Regions from separate parts of the Homo sapiens genome. Here regions 2 and 3 are each linked to region 1. The links are contacts of gene promoters, found by promoter capture Hi-C in human tissues and cell types (Jung and others, 2019). All regions are on one chromosome and are shown on one strand. Each heading gives the region's core, a stretch centred on a gene start or on the middle of the fragment in contact. The rest is flanking DNA. Distances are from core to core; before and after follow the strand shown.

Region 1 (3,524 bases), core at 99-2,598:
TATATTCTATTTGAACCCGTAAAGCAGACGAGGGCAAATCAAGCCATCCCCCGCGCTGGCTCACCGGCCACCGCGCCCAGCGCCTTCCTCCCCCTCCGGCGGGCGAGCGGGCAGGGGCGCCCGACTCCTACCTTCCTCCCGCCAGCCACCGGGGGACCAGCCGCGCTCTCCGGGGCGGGGGAGGCCGCCCGGGACGGGGACCCCCACCTTCCGCCTTCGGAAGCGGGTTGGGGCGGGGGTCGGACCCCGAGTCTCTACTCCCCGTCCCTCTGCCCCCCGGCGCGGCCCGACAGCTCCCAGCCCCATCCTGGCAGGTGGCTTGGGTGGCGGTAGATGCCGGGCGGGAGGAAGATGTGGGGCTGCTCTGGCAGGTTGGGGGTGCGAGGAGGAAAAAAAAACAGAGAAAGACACACACAGAGAGACAGGGAGAGAGCGCGCGCGAGAGAGCTCTTGTCTATAGATTTATCCACATAATATATATTTATGTAGCTTTTTTTCTCTCGACACTGATGAATGCGCGCTCGGATCCCCGGGCGGACTCCCTCCAAGCCGGCTCGCTTTTCTAGTCTAAATAAATAAATAAAGCCAGATGGAAGAAAAAAGCGCCCATTCCACCTCCGCCGCCGCCCCGCCCGCCATCCCTGCCTTTGCTTCGCCCGCCTGGCGCCCTAATAGAGCATAGCTTGGTGGATAAAGCCCCCCTACATACCCACACGAAAATAAAAATCACTATTTTTAAAATACAAAAAGTTGCACCTGCTGCTATTACAAAAAGAACCCCCAAAAGGCAAAGAGAGGAGGCCGGCTGCCCGGCTCCTCACGGACACCCGCTCCCCGCGGCCGCCGGGCCCGGAATCTCAGCGCCTCCCGAAGAGCCATGCGCCTGGCGCTATTTATAGCCGGGGGCCGTCTCGGACTGTACCATCGCCACGGCGCGGGGCCGCCGACGGGGGAGGCGCGGTGGCCGCCGCCCCACGCCGCCCTGCCCCCGGCCGCCGCCCGCCGTGGCGCGGGCCCCCACAGCGCGCCCATTCCCGGCCCCCCGCGCCCTCCTCCGCGCGCGCACACTCGCCACCCCCACCCCTGGTCTGGCTGGGAACTTGAACCGGTCCAGCCTGTTTAAACGGAAAGGACAGAGATCCTGTCTGTTCAATGTAAAAAAAAAAAAAAAAAAAAAAAAAAGAAAAAAAGAAAAAAAAAATCAGATCAGACCGAGAGAGAGAGGAGAGAGGGAGAGAGAGAGGGAGAGAGAGAGGGAGAGAGAGAGGAGAGGGAGGGAGGGAGAGAGAGAGGGGGGAGAGCAGAGAGAGAGCGCGAGCGCGAGCGAGCGAGAGAAGAGGAGAAAGAGAGAGAGCAGAGAGCGAGCGGAGAGCGAGGTGTAGAGAAACCGAGGGGGAGAGAACCCGAGTGTGTGTATGCGTGTGCGTGTGTGAGCGCGAGCGAGCGAGAGAGAGGAGCGAGAGAGTGTGAGCGAGAAAGAATAAAAGGAAAGAAGATTTTCTCTATGTATATAAAGATGGCCACGTTAGCAAACGGACAGGCTGACAACGCAAGCCTCAGTACCAACGGGCTCGGCAGCAGCCCGGGCAGTGCCGGGCACATGAACGGATTAAGCCACAGCCCGGGGAACCCGTCGACCATTCCCATGAAGGACCACGATGCCATCAAGCTGTTCATTGGGCAGATCCCCCGCAACCTGGATGAGAAGGACCTCAAGCCCCTCTTCGAGGAGTTTGGCAAAATCTACGAGCTTACGGTTCTGAAGGACAGGTTCACAGGCATGCACAAAGGTGAGTACACCTTTCCCTCCCAACTTTGCCGGGGAGCAGGAGCGGGCTGGCGGGCCGACCGGCCGGCCGGCGACTGACGAGCGGCGGACTAAGCGAGAGGAAGCCTCGGGCGGGCGCGGTGGAGGGAGGCGCTCGGGCAGCGGAGACCAGAGCTGGGGTGCGTGGGGAGCTGTTCGCTGGGGCAAGACTGGGTTTTGGGCGAGGTGCTGATAGGAACGATGCCATGGAGAGAGCAGCGGGCGCCGATGAAGAGAAAGAGAGAGGGGATCGAGGAGACGGGGCTTGGATTTTTGGGTACAGCGACCTGAAAGATGGGGATGGGGAAGGCTGCACCGGTCGAGCCCAGGACGCTGAGCGGACGGACTCGCGGGCTCCTGGCCGGCCGAGGACCGAGGGTGCTGTCCATCGCCGTGGTGCTGAAAATACTAAAGGAGGTGGTCTCCTCATCCTTTGCTCCGGGCTAGAGTAGCAGGAGCGCAGCCGTCTAAAAGGGAGAGAGGTGACAAATTCAAAGAGAAATTTTTATTTAAATGTAACAGTAAACTCTCCCTGTCGAGCTGTGTGCCTCAATAATCTGATTGTGGTGTGAATGGTGGTGTGTGTTGGGGGTGGGGGGGTTGGATGTTTGAAGGAACCAGTGATAAAACCTAAGGCAAGAATTAGCAAGGAACCAGCCATCCCCTGGGTGGAGTGGGGGGTCTGGCAAGCCTGGATAGTCCCCTTCCCAGGAAAGCGGGGCTTTGGGAAAAAAATATGTGTGTGCGAGATTTGCATTTTGAAAGGTGTACCCTAATTTATCCCAAACTCACCATGCAGAGAGCTTTATAGTACATTATTTCTCCCTTGAAGCGATCATTGCCAGTGAGTGCTTGGGGGAGGGGGAGACAGAATAATCAAAGAATTAAAACACAGCAACTTTTTAGGAAAGTGGTCATGGGAATTGTCCGCAGCCTGCCTGTTTTCTCCTTGTTTTATTATCTTTAAAGCAGAGCCCCAAACGTGTTCAGTTGTAGAATGTGTGTGGGTGGCTGGTGGGTGACGAAATTAGCCCAGTGCTCCGCTTCCTAACAGTAATATATAGGATGTGCAGCGGGAATGAATCGGTGCTGGATCTATGTGGGCAAGTTAAATGCTTTCTGAGAGAGATTGATCGCCAGGCAGGGAAGGAGCACGGGGCTAAGGAAGTTGTAGGGGATGTGTATGGATGTTCCGTTTTTAATAAACAGTAGTGTGGAGAGCCGCCGAAGATGCTGTTACAGCTGGTGGTTTTAAAGATGAAAACACACGCACACCCACCCCCACATAGAGAGCAGCCTCATCCTTGGCCACAAATGGGCTATGGACACAGCTGATCCTCCAGCACATTAGGTGCAGAGCGCAGAGCTGTCTGGCTCTCTAAGCAGCAGCGATTTTCACTATCACAACCACCCTCTTTCTCCAGCCCTCCCTTCGTTCGAATACTAAACAGAGCTCCAAACTCTTCATAGTTGGAGTCCCAGAGAGCAGTTTTTATTGGCTTTAGTATCTTCCAGCTTGCCTGCTGAGGAGTAAATCTTAAAGTTAATGGCATGTTGAGTAACACAAAAACACAGCAGAATGGAAATATACTGGGTTTGTTGGGGTGGGGTGAGGGTGGGGGCTGTAATGGAGAGAGAAGGCAACCTTTATCCAATATGGAGAAAATGTCTGTCTGTTCAAAAGAGAGATTGGAAAGGTGGAACGGGGAGGCAGCCT
Region 2 (3,634 bases), core at 694-3,193, 1.0 Mb before region 1:
GACCAGCCTGGCCAACATGGTGAAACCCCATTTCTACAAAAAAAATGCAAAAATTAGTCAGGCGTGGTGGCGGACATCTGCAGTCCCTGCTATTTGGGAGGCTGAGGCATAAGAATAGCTTGAACCCAGGAAGCAGAGGTTGTAGTGAGCTGAGATTGCACCGCTGCACACCAGCCTGGGTGACAGAGTGACGCTCTGTCAAAAAAAAAAAAAAAAAAAGAGAGAGAGAGAGACAGAGAAAGAGAAAAAAGAGAAAGAAAAAGAGAAGAAAAAGGAGATCTGGAAATTTCTTCCGGTATACTGTATAGAAACTAAGGTGTCATCACTTTGCCATTACAGATCATCACTGACTTCATAATGGTGTTATTGTTTTACCACTGAGGAAACTGAGGCTTACATTCTCTCAGTATTCTAAGCCTTACTTTACTCAGTTTTACGATAGAGTAGCAAACTAATAACCTCTAAAATCCTTTCTAGTTTTGATTTCTTTGGATTAGCTTCTCAAGGATACTTTCCAATCACTTCAAGCAGCAGTGCTGTGTCTCAGGCTGATATTCACTCTTCTTTATGATCACCAAGGTAATCAAATATAGATTTCTAACAATTTACTTTATTTCTTTGACCCACTGTTATAGACCCTTATAAAAAATATCTTTAGAGGATGTGTGAGCAAGGAGCTCTCCTGCCATTCTTCAGCATAGAAATCCTCCAAAACTAGGCCAGTTTGCCAATCCCAGAGTGGCACTCCAGTGATTTTTCCTACTGTTCAGTATATAGATTAAACGAAGGTTAAAATATGCATATTACACATTTCATATGTATAATAGCTTATATAAACATATGCTACTTATGTGATGTACCAAAATACATTCAGAGGGAAGAGAAAGAAAAGAAGCAGATCAGGCCCTCTATATCTGTGAAGTGAATTGGGTTAGTAGAAACAGCTTCCTGCTTAAGGGTCACGTGACTGTTCACTGAACACAATGAGGTTAACAGACATCAGAGAAACCAGTCTACTCTTACTGCAAAGACTTTTTTTTTTAAACAACTTGGAGAAAAAGCGGTCTGGATATAGTTTAATAAACTTCATAAATGTCAAAGTTTTACCCACGCATTATTAAAAATCTTAATTCCTTTTTATGAGCCCTATTACCCATTATTCTCAGAATTGTGTCTTTTATCAGAAGCATCATTAAAGTGTTAAGAAAAAAATTGCTTTTCTGAAGAACCCATCCATTTGTATAACGCTAAAACTGATGTTGATATTCGCCTGTCCTCTTGTCCCTTGATATGGTTTGGCTGTGTGTCCCCACCCAAATCTCATGTTGAATTGTAATCCCTAAGTGCCAAGGGAGGGGCCTGGTGGGAGGTGATTGGATCATGGGGGTGGATTTCCCACTTGCTGTTCTCATGATAGTAACTCAGTTCTCATGAGATCTGATGGTTTAAAAGTGTGTGGCAGTTCCCTGCTTGCTTTCTCTCTCTCCTGCTTCACCATGGTGAGACATGCTTGTTTTCCTTTCACCTTCTGCCATGATTGTAAGTTTCCTGACCCTCCCAGTCATGTTTCCTGTACAGCTTGCAGAACTGTCAGTCAATTAAACTTCTTTTCTTCATAAGTTACCAAGTCTCAGGCAGTTCTTTATAGCAGTGTGTAAATGGGCTAATACATCCCTCATTTTGAATATCACATTTCATCAGTTCATCACGACATTTCTTAATGTGTCTACTTTATATAAACTTGGATCTCAAGTTTTGAGGATTACTGCTATTCTTATTAATAGATGTTGATCCTATTTTAAGGATCAATGTCTATAATACTAATGAGATTGCCCATATGACAAGTTTATTGTTATTCCCATTTTGCAGATTAAAAAAAAAATCTCTTCTCATGGCAGTTAAGTGACTTGCTTAAGTTTAGTAACCAAAAGAGAGTAAAGCTAAATTTCAAACGCAGGTCCAAATGTCCCCAAACTCTGCAATCTGACACATCATAGAATCATCTTCTGTAGGAAATGTGGGGCTTTTAAGGCCAGGGGCCATGGTAGAGTCAGTGTTTCTTCAAGTGCCTGGCTTGATGTCGGGCATATAGCACTTTCAGTTAAGCATGGCCTCCAGACACACTGCCTGTTTCACGTCTTTCTCTGTCCTGTCTAAGCATGGCTTACACATCTCAGTCATTATCAAGCAATGACTGCCTCAACCTCCCCTTAGTCATCTCAATGCCCTTTTCTTAAAACTTCCCTAGTTACACCATGTTTATTTTGAGTACTGTGACTAGAACTGCAGGTGAGATCCAAGGAGATTCAGCACATCTTCATCTTAGCTTTGTGGTTTCTCTTTTCAGCACCTCACCAAAGGCAGAGGAAATGCTGACTTTACATTGACACAGACTTCAGAGAAACTTGACTGTTTAGTCAACAGGTTTGCCATAATGTGCACAGACCAATATTAGCAGCAAAATAAGAAAAAAAGGAAATGTTAAATAATTTATTATTTTATATTTTTGACTGCTATTCTATGTCATCTTCCTGGTAAACTAAATATTTCTTATTTTATTATTCTTTTCATGATGGAAAAGGTACCCATCTTGGCTTGTGTTAAAAAAAAATGGTTCACATGATTTTGAAGTTTGAAGGTAAATCTAGCATCAGGCATGATTTTGTCTAGAGGTCAAAAAGATAATGTCCGAGTTTCTTCTCTTCATTTCTTTAGCCTCAGTCTTTTTTAGTGTGTTTGACTCATTCTTTATAACTGCATATGATATCCTACAAGTGGCTGACTGCGGCCACAGAGGTGTTGGTGCTATTTCTGGGCCAAGGTGTGTATTGGATGTGGTCCCACCACACTCCTTGCTCTCTTGCCCCTCCCTCTGCCTGGGTGAAGCTAATAGAGAAGCCCTGAGGGATGGTGATACCACAAGCCGTCAAGAAACTCAGTTACTCAGTCATCAATGGAGGAAAACTTCAGGCTGACTAGCAACGCCTGCTTGAACGATTAAGACAGCAGGAGGCCGGGTGTGGTGGCTCATGCCTATAATCCCAGCATGTTGGGAGGCCGAGGTGAGTGGATCACCTGACATCAGGAGTTCAAGACCAGCCTGACCAACAAGGTAAAACCCTGTCTCTACTAAAAACACAAAAAATTAGCCTGGTGTGATGGCAGGTGCCTGTAGTCCCACCTACTCGGGAGGCTGAGACAGGAGAATTGCTTGAACCCAGGAGGCGGAGGTTGCAGTGAGCCAAGATCACACCACTGTACTCCAGCCTGGGCGACAGAGCAGGACTCTGTCTTAAAAAAAAAAAAAAAAGTTACAAGAAATAATCTTTAAATTATTATATATTTTAGAGTTTGTGTTATTATGTATGTTGCAGCTAACCGAATCCCAACAAACATTCTGGAATATATGGCCAACAGATAATTTCAGTTTACATTATTCATAAGGTCTACACAGATTATTATTATTATTATTCATAAGGTCCACACACAAAAAGGAGCATATTTTGGGATAACTTTTCCTGGAAATAGTGAAGGGGTATTAAAGATAAAAGGCATCTCTAATATACAAAAAGAATAGATGTTTTCAGAACTTGATTTGATTGGCATATAAACCAATATTGTGATTAAAGGAATG
Region 3 (3,765 bases), core at 871-3,370, 1.0 Mb before region 1:
CCATTGAATACTGTTCATTGCTAGAGTTCTCACAATACAAGATGCTACTGCACCATGGAAGGAAGTCAGATAGTCTCACTATGAAGACTTCTGTTAGATTGAATCATAATTACTCTCCAATCAGGTCCAACATAAGCCTTAATATCTTTTCTGCTTAATAGTGTTAGAGTTTGGGGATTAGAGTTTTTCCTGTGGACTGACATTTGTAGGCGAAACTAACCAGGTGGCCATTATATCTATAGCCAGGAATTAATGTGCAGCAGTCAGTGAACTTGCCTTACTGCAAAACAAAAGCCTTCTGAAATAATTGGCTTCTTGCTGCAGCTCTGCCACAACAGGTAGACAGGGAGGCATATGGGAATTGGTAAGCTTGGGAACACAGACACTCCTCTCCTAGTGTGGCATTATTCATGTGCCCTGAACCTTCTATTCAGAATATTGGGTGATAGTTCAGGAAGATAATGGCCTCTGCCCAGGATCTGAATTCCTGGAGGACAAGAGGCAGTAGCACAGGGACTTCATTATAAGTTGGTCCTCCTGTAAGTTGCTGCAGCATGGAATTGGGAAAACCTTCCACAAAATTGACAGTGAGTTTAGTTCATAGCTTGAAACCATGTTCAAAATACACCCCAACTGGATCATTTATACAGTCTGTCTGTAATGGATATAAAGCGTGGGCCATACATCCTGAATTATCTTAATGTCAATATTATTTTCTATGAATTCTATAAGCCATGATATGCCCTATAAATTTAATTGGGATGTTGCACTTTAAAGAGTGGCCTTTAGCAATGGGAAGGGGCACAAAATCATTAATAAGATCACATGTCCAAATATCAAATGTAGACAGCATGGCTAACTGAATTATTGGCATCATGTAAGGCTTTTTAAATATAAAAGTCTAGTTAGGGAGACAATCCTAAAACATTGAAAGCTAAAAGACAATTAAGTATTACTAAGTGATTTAATGAGTTAGGTAAGACTGAAGGACTTCAAGGAGGGAAACATTAGCATGTGCTTTCATGGATGGTGAGCGCAAAAGGAGGAAAAGAAGATGGAAACTGCCACTCAGAGGCCTACTAAATGCTAAGTAGTCATCTAGGTGCTTGATGAGCATTATTATAATTGTACTTTTCCCAAGGTTACCCCAAATTTAAGTGATTTATTCTTTTCTGGAAATAAAAATACAGTCTTAAATCATGCTTGTAAATTTCAATTGGAGAAGTCTTTGTTCCACCAGAGTGCTTTAAAGATCTAACTGAAGGAAAAAGAAAATTGCGGGGGGAAAGAAAAAGGATGCATGGACGAGGCTTTATCAAAGGAGTTCAAATTTAACACATCGGGTTTTTCTAAGAATTCCTGGAAAAAAAGACTTTTACTCTATTTGAAGGAAAATTCTTGAAAACACTGTATCGCTTACTGCCTTGTATTCCACTTAATTTATTCTAATTTCAACAGCTCTACTTGTTTGTAAACTCCTTGATAGAAATAGCACTAGGATTAAAGTAAAGAAACTGTGAGGTCATTCTTTGCAGCCTCCCTTTATATGGATTTTTGGCCCTCTACCTTCACTTAAATATCTCTTAGGCTCTGCCTGAACACTGCCCCATTGTGGAATTCACTAGCCAATAAAGCAAACCATCCAAGTGCCTAAAGTTTGCTTTCAGAATGAGATCTCATCTTCCTGTTTATTATAGAATTTCACTTTAATGCAGCCACGAAATATCCCTAAAACTTTTTTTTTTCCAAAGCAGAATGTGCAGTTTTTTTTTGTTTTGTTTTGTTTTGTTTTGTTTTGTTTTTTTGCCATGCTATGATTGAGATCCTTTGATACCCTGATTATTTTTTTTTCTGGATAACTTCCAGTTTGCCAGTGTCCATATTTGACACACCCCAAAATAAATATAAACAAATGTTCCTACAAACAACACTAATCGTATTTTAGTGAAAACTGCCTAAGTGCTGGTCATTGTTTCCCCATGTTTACCATGTTAACATTTCCCAAAATGCCATAAATTAAGGTATTTGGGTCCTTATTTTTGGAGATGAGGGACATGAAGTTAAGCAAAAGGCCAAAACTCAGTTACTGGCCGAAGTAACACTAAAGCCAGGACCATGTTACTCTGGAGCCCATAAGCAGGGCTGGAAGCAGGCATATCCTGGTATAGTCTAACCTGTAAGGGTATATTTCTCATCTTCATACCCTCACAGCACCTTACTCAAGGCCTTGAATAATATATCATCTTGATTGAATGAATGAAAGTTTAAATAAATAACACCACCAGCAAAAACTGTCTCTTTATAACCACGAGTATGAAGAAAATTCAAGGAGATTTAAACAAACAAAGACTATCTTTATTACTGCCCTTCTACAGAATTTTATATTCAACTGCCTCCCTTAACACATCTGTTTAAACATATGTAAATTAAAGCTCCTGCTTTCTCCCCAAAACTCTTTTCCTAGTTTTTCACCAGAGATGCAACGTTATTCTCAAACGCTCCTCCCTTTTCTTTACCCTCCCTAACTAACACATCAGCCAACCCTGTCATTTCTCCTAAACCCATCACAAATCTGCCATCTTTTTGAATGTCCTCACTTCCACTACATTAGTCCGGACACCTCAACTCCCTTGGATGACGGCAAAACTCTAACTGTAACCTTCTGCTTTTCTGCCTGCCTTGAATTCTCATAAGTATTTATTTATAGATGTAAATTTGATTGGGCCATGCCCCTCAAACACCCAGAGTGACTGCATATGTTCTGTGACTCCAGCCCTCTTACCCAGTGATAGGGTCCTACATCTCACTCCAACTTTGTCTTGCAGCACTCTTCCTTTTTCTTGCTACCCTCTTATAATTTGCTCTTTCCATCCTTCTATTATGTCAAGGTTTCACCTGTCTCAGGGTTTCAGAGGCCTTCTCCTGATATTTACAATTGTTTGGTTCCTAACTTCAATGTTACCTTATTAATAAAATTTTTCTAGATTATCACATCTAAAATAAATTTTCCATTATTCTCTATCATCTCCTTTTTTTAATGATTGTAGTTCTTTTTAACTATATGGGATTTAATTTGCAGGCATTTGGTTTTTTGGTCTGTATCATTCATTGGAATACAAGCTTGAAGCAGAAAGGAATTATGTCTGAATTTCCATGAAATAGTGGTACATACTAGTCCCCTTTAGAAGTTACTTTCAGTATAGAGAAATCCACCTTGACACAATTGCTAAAGTCTTAGCTCTGCCCATTCAAGATTTCATTTTTTCTCCAGCAGAGTGCTGAGGGTAGAAGAAGACTTAATATTTTTTTGACCACATTTTCCAATATTCTTTAATCTCTGTATACATATTATTAAGGGGCTCATCTCCTGACCTTTGTGTGATGATGCTATTGCCTCTGGTCTATTGGCATGTCCTCTGCTACAGTTGGTGCCTCCACAGTGCCCATCATTGAAAACAAGAAGATCCCAGAAAGCATCATTATTAACTCACCACATTTATGGAGACCTACACTGGATCCTAGGTCAGAACCCCTGTGAAGCTGAATCACCTTTACTCTCCTAGAGACAGCAAGATTGTTCCCCTCCACTGTGAGATGGCATCCCTTCTTCTACGTTTCACCATTTCTGTTCACCTCAAGATTTCCCTCATACCCTGTTTGGCAATTTCTGGAGCTCCCAACATGACCAGTGTGAGGTAGGCAGACCAACTCTCCTCATTTTATTGGTCATCCTAGATAAATATTCATATCTGTAATATAGTTGTG

What was found. Contacts are between HindIII fragments. The study calls those that stand out against the background at their distance.
Region 2: a fragment that was not itself captured here is called in contact with the fragment with the promoter of CELF4 in region 1 in 1 of the 25 tissues and cell types used here (dorsolateral prefrontal cortex).
Region 3: a fragment that was not itself captured here is called in contact with the fragment with the promoter of CELF4 in region 1 in 1 of the 25 tissues and cell types used here (dorsolateral prefrontal cortex).

The regions. Positions count from the first base shown.
Region 1 is chr18:37,563,622-37,567,145 of GRCh38, reverse strand. It overlaps CELF4 (CUGBP Elav-like family member 4), which reads left to right and starts at 1,348. Exons shown (of 13, transcript NM_020180.4): 1 at 1,348-1,790. The coding sequence starts at 1,505. LOC124904288 (a long non-coding RNA gene) reads right to left here and starts at 869. Exons shown (of 2, transcript XR_007066345.1): 1 at 757-869; 2 at 458-567. RefSeq lists an enhancer at 1,301-1,804. The HindIII fragment of the contact is 29,207 bases long and covers 1-3,524 here.
Region 2 is chr18:38,574,445-38,578,078 of GRCh38, reverse strand. It overlaps LOC112268212 (a long non-coding RNA gene), which reads left to right and starts at 409. Exons shown (of 3, transcript XR_002958210.1): 1 at 409-579; 2 at 2,348-3,112. The HindIII fragment of the contact is 5,644 bases long and covers 1-3,634 here.
Region 3 is chr18:38,594,300-38,598,064 of GRCh38, reverse strand. No RefSeq gene overlaps it. Among named protein-coding and RNA genes, the nearest start is that of MIR4318, 940 kb to the right of the region's middle. The HindIII fragment of the contact is 5,190 bases long and covers 1-3,765 here.